2 separate regions of the Homo sapiens genome follow, and region 1 is linked to region 2. The links are contacts of gene promoters, found by promoter capture Hi-C in blood cells and fetal thymus (Javierre and others, 2016). All regions are on one chromosome and are shown on one strand. The core of a region is centred on a gene start or on the middle of the fragment in contact, and the rest is flanking DNA. Distances in the headings are between cores, read along the strand shown. Region 1 has its middle 33 kb from the start of BIN1. Region 2 holds the start of BIN1 (bridging integrator 1).

What was found. Contacts are between HindIII fragments. The CHiCAGO score rates a contact against its expected background, and 5 or more counts as called.
Region 1: a fragment that was not itself captured here is called in contact with the fragment with the promoter of BIN1 in region 2 in 1 of 17 cell types (endothelial precursors); the score reaches 6.6 in endothelial precursors.

What each region holds. Positions count from the first base shown.
Region 1 is chr2:127,138,986-127,141,685 of GRCh38, forward strand. No RefSeq gene overlaps it. Among named protein-coding and RNA genes, the nearest start is that of BIN1, 33 kb to the left of the region's middle. The HindIII fragment of the contact is 1,511 bases long and covers 595-2,105 here.
Region 2 is chr2:127,105,805-127,108,504 of GRCh38, forward strand. BIN1 (bridging integrator 1) reads right to left here and starts at 1,350. Exons shown (of 19, transcript NM_139343.3): 1 at 1,056-1,350. The coding sequence starts at 1,139. LOC105373605 (a long non-coding RNA gene) reads left to right here and starts at 1,341. Exons shown (of 4, transcript XR_923311.4): 1 at 1,341-2,011. RefSeq lists silencers at 1,198-1,407, 1,289-1,583, 1,418-1,477. The HindIII fragment of the contact is 12,156 bases long and covers 1-2,700 here.

The sequences.
Region 1 (2,700 bases), core at 100-2,599, 33 kb after region 2:
TTATCTCCATTTTGGGTCAAAGAAATATCTATTTTAAGAGGTACCAATGGGCATAGAGTAGAAGAACAGTCTCTTCTTCTCATCCCCCAATCACCCAGATTCTTTCCCTGGGAGTAGACACTGTGACCAGTTTCCTGTGAGCCCATCTGAAACCAAAAAAGAGCCCACATAGCTAAGACAATCCTAAGGAAAAAGAACAAAGCTGGAGGCATTACGCTACCTGACTTCAAACTATACTACAAGGCTATAGTAAACAAAACAGCATGGTGTGCTTTTCTCCCAATACTTTGATGTTAGGTTGTTAGATGAATAAAAGTTCATAATTGTTACATCATTATGAAATATTTTCTTTTTTCCTTTTGTTTTGCCTTGAATTCCATTTTTATGACATTATTAAACTTGTTACCTTTTTTGTTAGCATATATTTGATGTACCTTTTTTCCATCCTTTCGTTTTCAATTTTTCTGTCATTATTTCTTTGTATCTCAGAAATAGCATGTAGCTGCATTTTAGGGATTTCTTTTCCTCCTGATTTGTTGTTTTTCATGAGACAATTCAAACCATTCCCATTTATTGTGATTACTGACATGTCAAAGCTTGTTTCTGCCATATTGTTTTATATTTATTAATATATGTACCATGCTTTCTACTTTTCCCCACGGTTTTCCTTTTTTATCAATTGACCAGCTCTTCTTCATTTAATTTCTGATTAAGTGCTTACCTTTAAATTTTAACTCCAACATCTGTCCATTATTTTATTTTCCCTTATAGCCTGTGTAAGTGTAGTGCCCCTTGTCATTATGCTCGGCAAAGCACAAACCTTAGCCCACTTGGACTTCCTTCCTCTCCTTCTCCTCCCCACCTGCAATGTTAATACCACTTGAGCTTTTAGTTCCAGTTCCATTTAGACTTAGCAGCAAATTCTAATTCCTTTACTCACCACTGCTTCTTGAATCTGTAGCTTTCTCTTGGATTTATTTTCATTGTGTTGAAGTACCTCCTCCTACAGGTAGGATGGAAGGTGACTCATTTTCTCATCTGTGGATGTCTGAAATTGTCTTTACATATTTTACCTTCACACTTGAATGATGGCTTTAGCCGATTCAAACATGTGTCCCTTAGATCTCTAAAAATATTTCCCCTGGGTCTCTGAAGATCTTCCAACATGCAGTGTTGTAGCTAAATCTAATATTAGTCTGCTTTCTCTTAGGAGTAATCTGTTTTCCTTTTCTCCATCCTTCATGTTCTAAGTTTCAGCCCAGCCAGTCTATCATTTTCTGTTCTGCTTGTCATGAAGTGGGCCCCTTCAGGATGAGGACTTTTGTCTTTTGTAGACTTGAGAAATTTCCTTCTCTATTAATCTTAGCGTTCCCCACATCCAACCTCTCTAGTCCCTCTTTCTGGAGCTCCTATTTAAAAGGTATTAACATTTCTGAATCTAGTCTTCATATATCCTCACTTTTATTTTATGCTTTCTATCTCTTCTTTTTGCGGGGCATTCTAGATGAAGTCCTCAATTTGATTTTCCAGTTCACTAATATGCTATTATTGACCTACATCCAGTCTGATCATACTCCAAAAGCCCCTTTTTGAATATACCTTTGAGCGTCTTCTTTTTTATTTCTAAGGCCTCACACCGTTTCCTCTCACAGCTTTCTGAGATTAACTGTGCTTCGTCCGTGTGCTCTGCTTGCTGTTTATCTGGGTATCAGTCTGTTTCCTGTGCTCTGCGTCCCAGTCATGGCAGTGCTTTCCTCAGTGTTCAGCGGCTCTGGTGTGTGCTCGTCTTGTGTTTGAGGTTCTTTGTTACCCAGTCTATGGGTGATGCCTCCAGCCACGGTGTGGGAGAGATGACCGTGGGTGGAAAACAAGCTGGTGGACGTGGTGTGCCTGCATCCGAGGTCCGTTTGTCCAGAGTGTCACCTTGCCTCCCTAGGCTGGGCGTTCACACTGGCAGGAGGGAGACAGAGATCCCTGCTGCCTGCTATTTGGCTAAGTGGGAAAGGTGTGGTGGGAGGAGTAGATAGCTGGCTGGCTTTGTGGTTCCTACTGCAACATCCTAACCCACGACCTACCAGTCACCACCACCCCATTCACCATCTTCAAGCTTAAATTCCCTTCAAAACTGCCTATGACAGCAGGTCTCCCTATACGTATTTTGGGCAGTGGTTTCTTCCTTTCAACCCCACCAATTTCCTTCTTTCAATAATTCCTCGCAACTTTAAATCCACCGAGGCCCCTTCTCGTCTCCTAGAACATTTTTGGATGACATGTATTTATTTTTTCTGGTATTTCTAAGGGTTTGGGACAGGAAAAAGTGGTTGGGGTTCAGTCTGCCATTTTTAGCTAATTTCTAAATAGATTTTTCAAGTGCTCAGAGCAACCCTATGAGCTAGGTATTAGTAATAACTCTCAATTTACAAATGAGGAGACAAGCTTAGAGAAAAAAATACAAAATTTTCTCAAGATTTCACTGCCGGCAAAGAGCAGCACTACGTCCCTAACTCAACTCTGTTCAACACTAAGCCCACTGCCGTCCCATGCGGGTAAGTCGAATGCAAAGCTCTGCCCCGTGATTTTTCCAAAGCATCCAGAAAAAGCCTTACAACCTCCCGGGCTTCTGCTTCTGGAACACACTGGAGGACCACTGCAGCAGGCCATGTCTCCAAAACTCTCCCAATGATCACAGCCGCTAATTCC
Region 2 (2,700 bases), core at 100-2,599:
GCGGGTGGGAGAGGGGGCAGGCCTGGCCGCGGGGCACTGGGGGGCCACCCTGGCAGAAACACAGATTCTGCAATCTCAGATTTCAGAGTTGGAGTCGTCAGGGGAAGTGGCGTCAGCAGCTGGCGTGATCCAATTCAATAAACCAGAGGTGGCTTGGGATAGACAACTGACCGGGTGCAGACCCCCGCCCCTCAATCTCTGCATTTCCTGCACGCTCTGGGCACCCTGGGAGGCCCCGGCTCCATCCCCCATTCCAGCTCTCCGCGAGGAGGGGTCGGGTTTCCTGTGGCGCCTTCCACGCGCCTCCTCCAGGCCAGCTCCCCACCCGGCCGTGGGCTCCCAAAGCCAGTGCCGCCACCCGCTCCCCGGCCGCCGGAAACGCTAAGCCCCTGCTGGGGCGAGGGCACCTCCTTGCGGGGTGCGTAGCCCTGGGCTCCCGGTGGGGCCGGGCTGGGCGGGAGCTTCCAGGCCGCAGGCACCTCTCGGGAAAGGAAACCCAATCCCTCCTTCGGCCCACGGAGAACGAAAGTGGAGAAGCAGTGGGAAGGAAGGAACTGTGGGTGCCGGTTCGAGAAGCAGCCTTGGGAGTCCGGGGGAATAGTGTCCCCAGGGGCAGAGGGACATACTCCCTCTCGCCCCGAGCGCCGGCCCAGCCTAGGTTGCCTGCATGGGCCTGGAGAGCTGAGGGTCACCACCTGGCCTCCCAGCCTCCCGGCCCTTGGCCTCCAAAGCGGGGTAGCCTGGAGCGCGCGCCTGAGAAGAGCCTGGAGCAGGGCCGGCCACTGCTGTGCAGCCGAGCCACGAAGGTGCAAAGCGGGGCCCTGTCCTGCCCCGGCCGGGTGTGGGGAGACAGAGGACGCAAACCTAAGAGGGCACCCAGAGCGCCGGGGAACGCAGCCTGGGGACCTCGAAGCCCCTCGAAAGCGCTCCTCTAGAGGTGACAGCACCAGATCCTGGCGAAGGACCAGGCCCCGGGGTCGGAGGATAGGGGGACAGGTGGCCGGGGCTCCGCGGCGGCTGGGACTCCGCGGCTGCTGGGGCTCCGGCTCGCTCACCTTCTCCTGCGCGCGGGTGAGCTTCTTCTGCACGTTGCTGGCGATCTTTCCCGCCGTCACCCCTTTACTGCCCATCTCTGCCATCGCGGCGCAGGCCTCGCCCGGTGGCAGGGGCCGCTCTCGCGCGGGGAGATCTTGCGCGCCGCGCTCCCAGCCCCCAGCCCCGGCCGCGCGTCCAGACCGGCTGCCGCTCCACGCCGCGCACCCGACAGCGGAGCCAACTGACGGAGGCGGAGCGTGCGCCGGACGGGCGAGCGAGCCAGCGAGCTAGCCAGCGAGCGACGCGGGGACAGAGGGAGGGAGAGGGGAGGGGCCGGGCCTCAGGCCGCGGTCGGCGCCCCCCGCCCGCCCCCTCCGGACAATAAGCTGCCTTTTAAAGGGCCACTCCGGGCGCCGGCACCGCCAGGTCCGCGAGGAGGGAGGGGCGCGCGCGGCGCTGGGGCTGCGGCGAGCGGGACTCCCCTGACGCTCCAGCTGCACCGCCCCGGGGCGGGGACTAATCCGCCGGCCTGGCGTCTTGGTCTTCCCCGCAAGCAGTAATCTCCTGCAACCCAGGAAAGGAGACTAGGTGGAGGAGAGGAGTGCTTTCGAAATCAAAGAGAAAGTGCGGCGAAGGGGGCGCGGCCCTGAACAGAGGAGCCGCGGCTGCTGGGAGAACGCGCCCGGAGCCCCCTCCTTTTCCAGGGGCTCACCTCCCGCCCGGTGCCCGGTGCCCGGTGCCCGACGCTCCGCCTCCTCCCAGCCTTCGGCCCTCGGGTTTTCGCCCGGATACCCTAGGCGCCTCCGGGACATCTCCACATCTTTGCCTACGGCGCCTAGCCCAGTACCAACCGGTGCTTGGTCTTCCCGTTCGCTAAAAATTTATTATAATAACAACAACCTAGCATTACTGAGTGCTTACTGTGTACTAAGTGACTTGACAGGCATTATTTCATTCGGTCTCCGTGGCCCTAGAGGTAGGTGCTATTACTGTTCCTACTTTACAACCAACGCGCCGGGATCGAGGAACGAGATCTCTGCCTCTGTCTCCCAGGTGCTCCACCACCATACGCCGGGTTGTCTCCTACCCCCAGCAGGAAGGAATGATTAGTGATCATTATTCCTGGAGAAGATAAGGTTATTGCTAACCAGCTTTGCCAATAGACCAATGACACTTCTTTTAAGTTAATAAATACGTATTGAGTCTGCTGATACCCACCCCCATTCAGCCCTAAAACATGTCAGGGGCTACAGCACTTTGCTGCCCCTGGAAATTTCTAAAGAACTGTTGATTGAGTTGAGCAGAGAGATAGGTCCCGCTGAAGAGGCCTAGACGTGTCTGGTGCACACACAGGAGCCAGGGCTATGGCCTGCAGGACCCGCAGCGGTCAGAGGAGCAGAGCTGGCCAGGGACAGAGGTCCCTGAGAGGCTTCCTGGAGGAACAGGAAGGGCTCTTGCAGACCACAAACCAAGCAGTTTGTACAAATGGAGAAATCGAGTCCCAGGAATGAGAGGTTCAGCCTGGGTTCACACAGGCCATTCCCTCTTCCCTGGAAGGCCCTCCTGCTCTTTCTCCGGCTACTCGGGGTTCTTCCACCACCGCTCAGTGCTGCCCCATGGCCCAGTGTGTTCGTCTGTCCTCTTCCGGGCCTATTATCATGATGT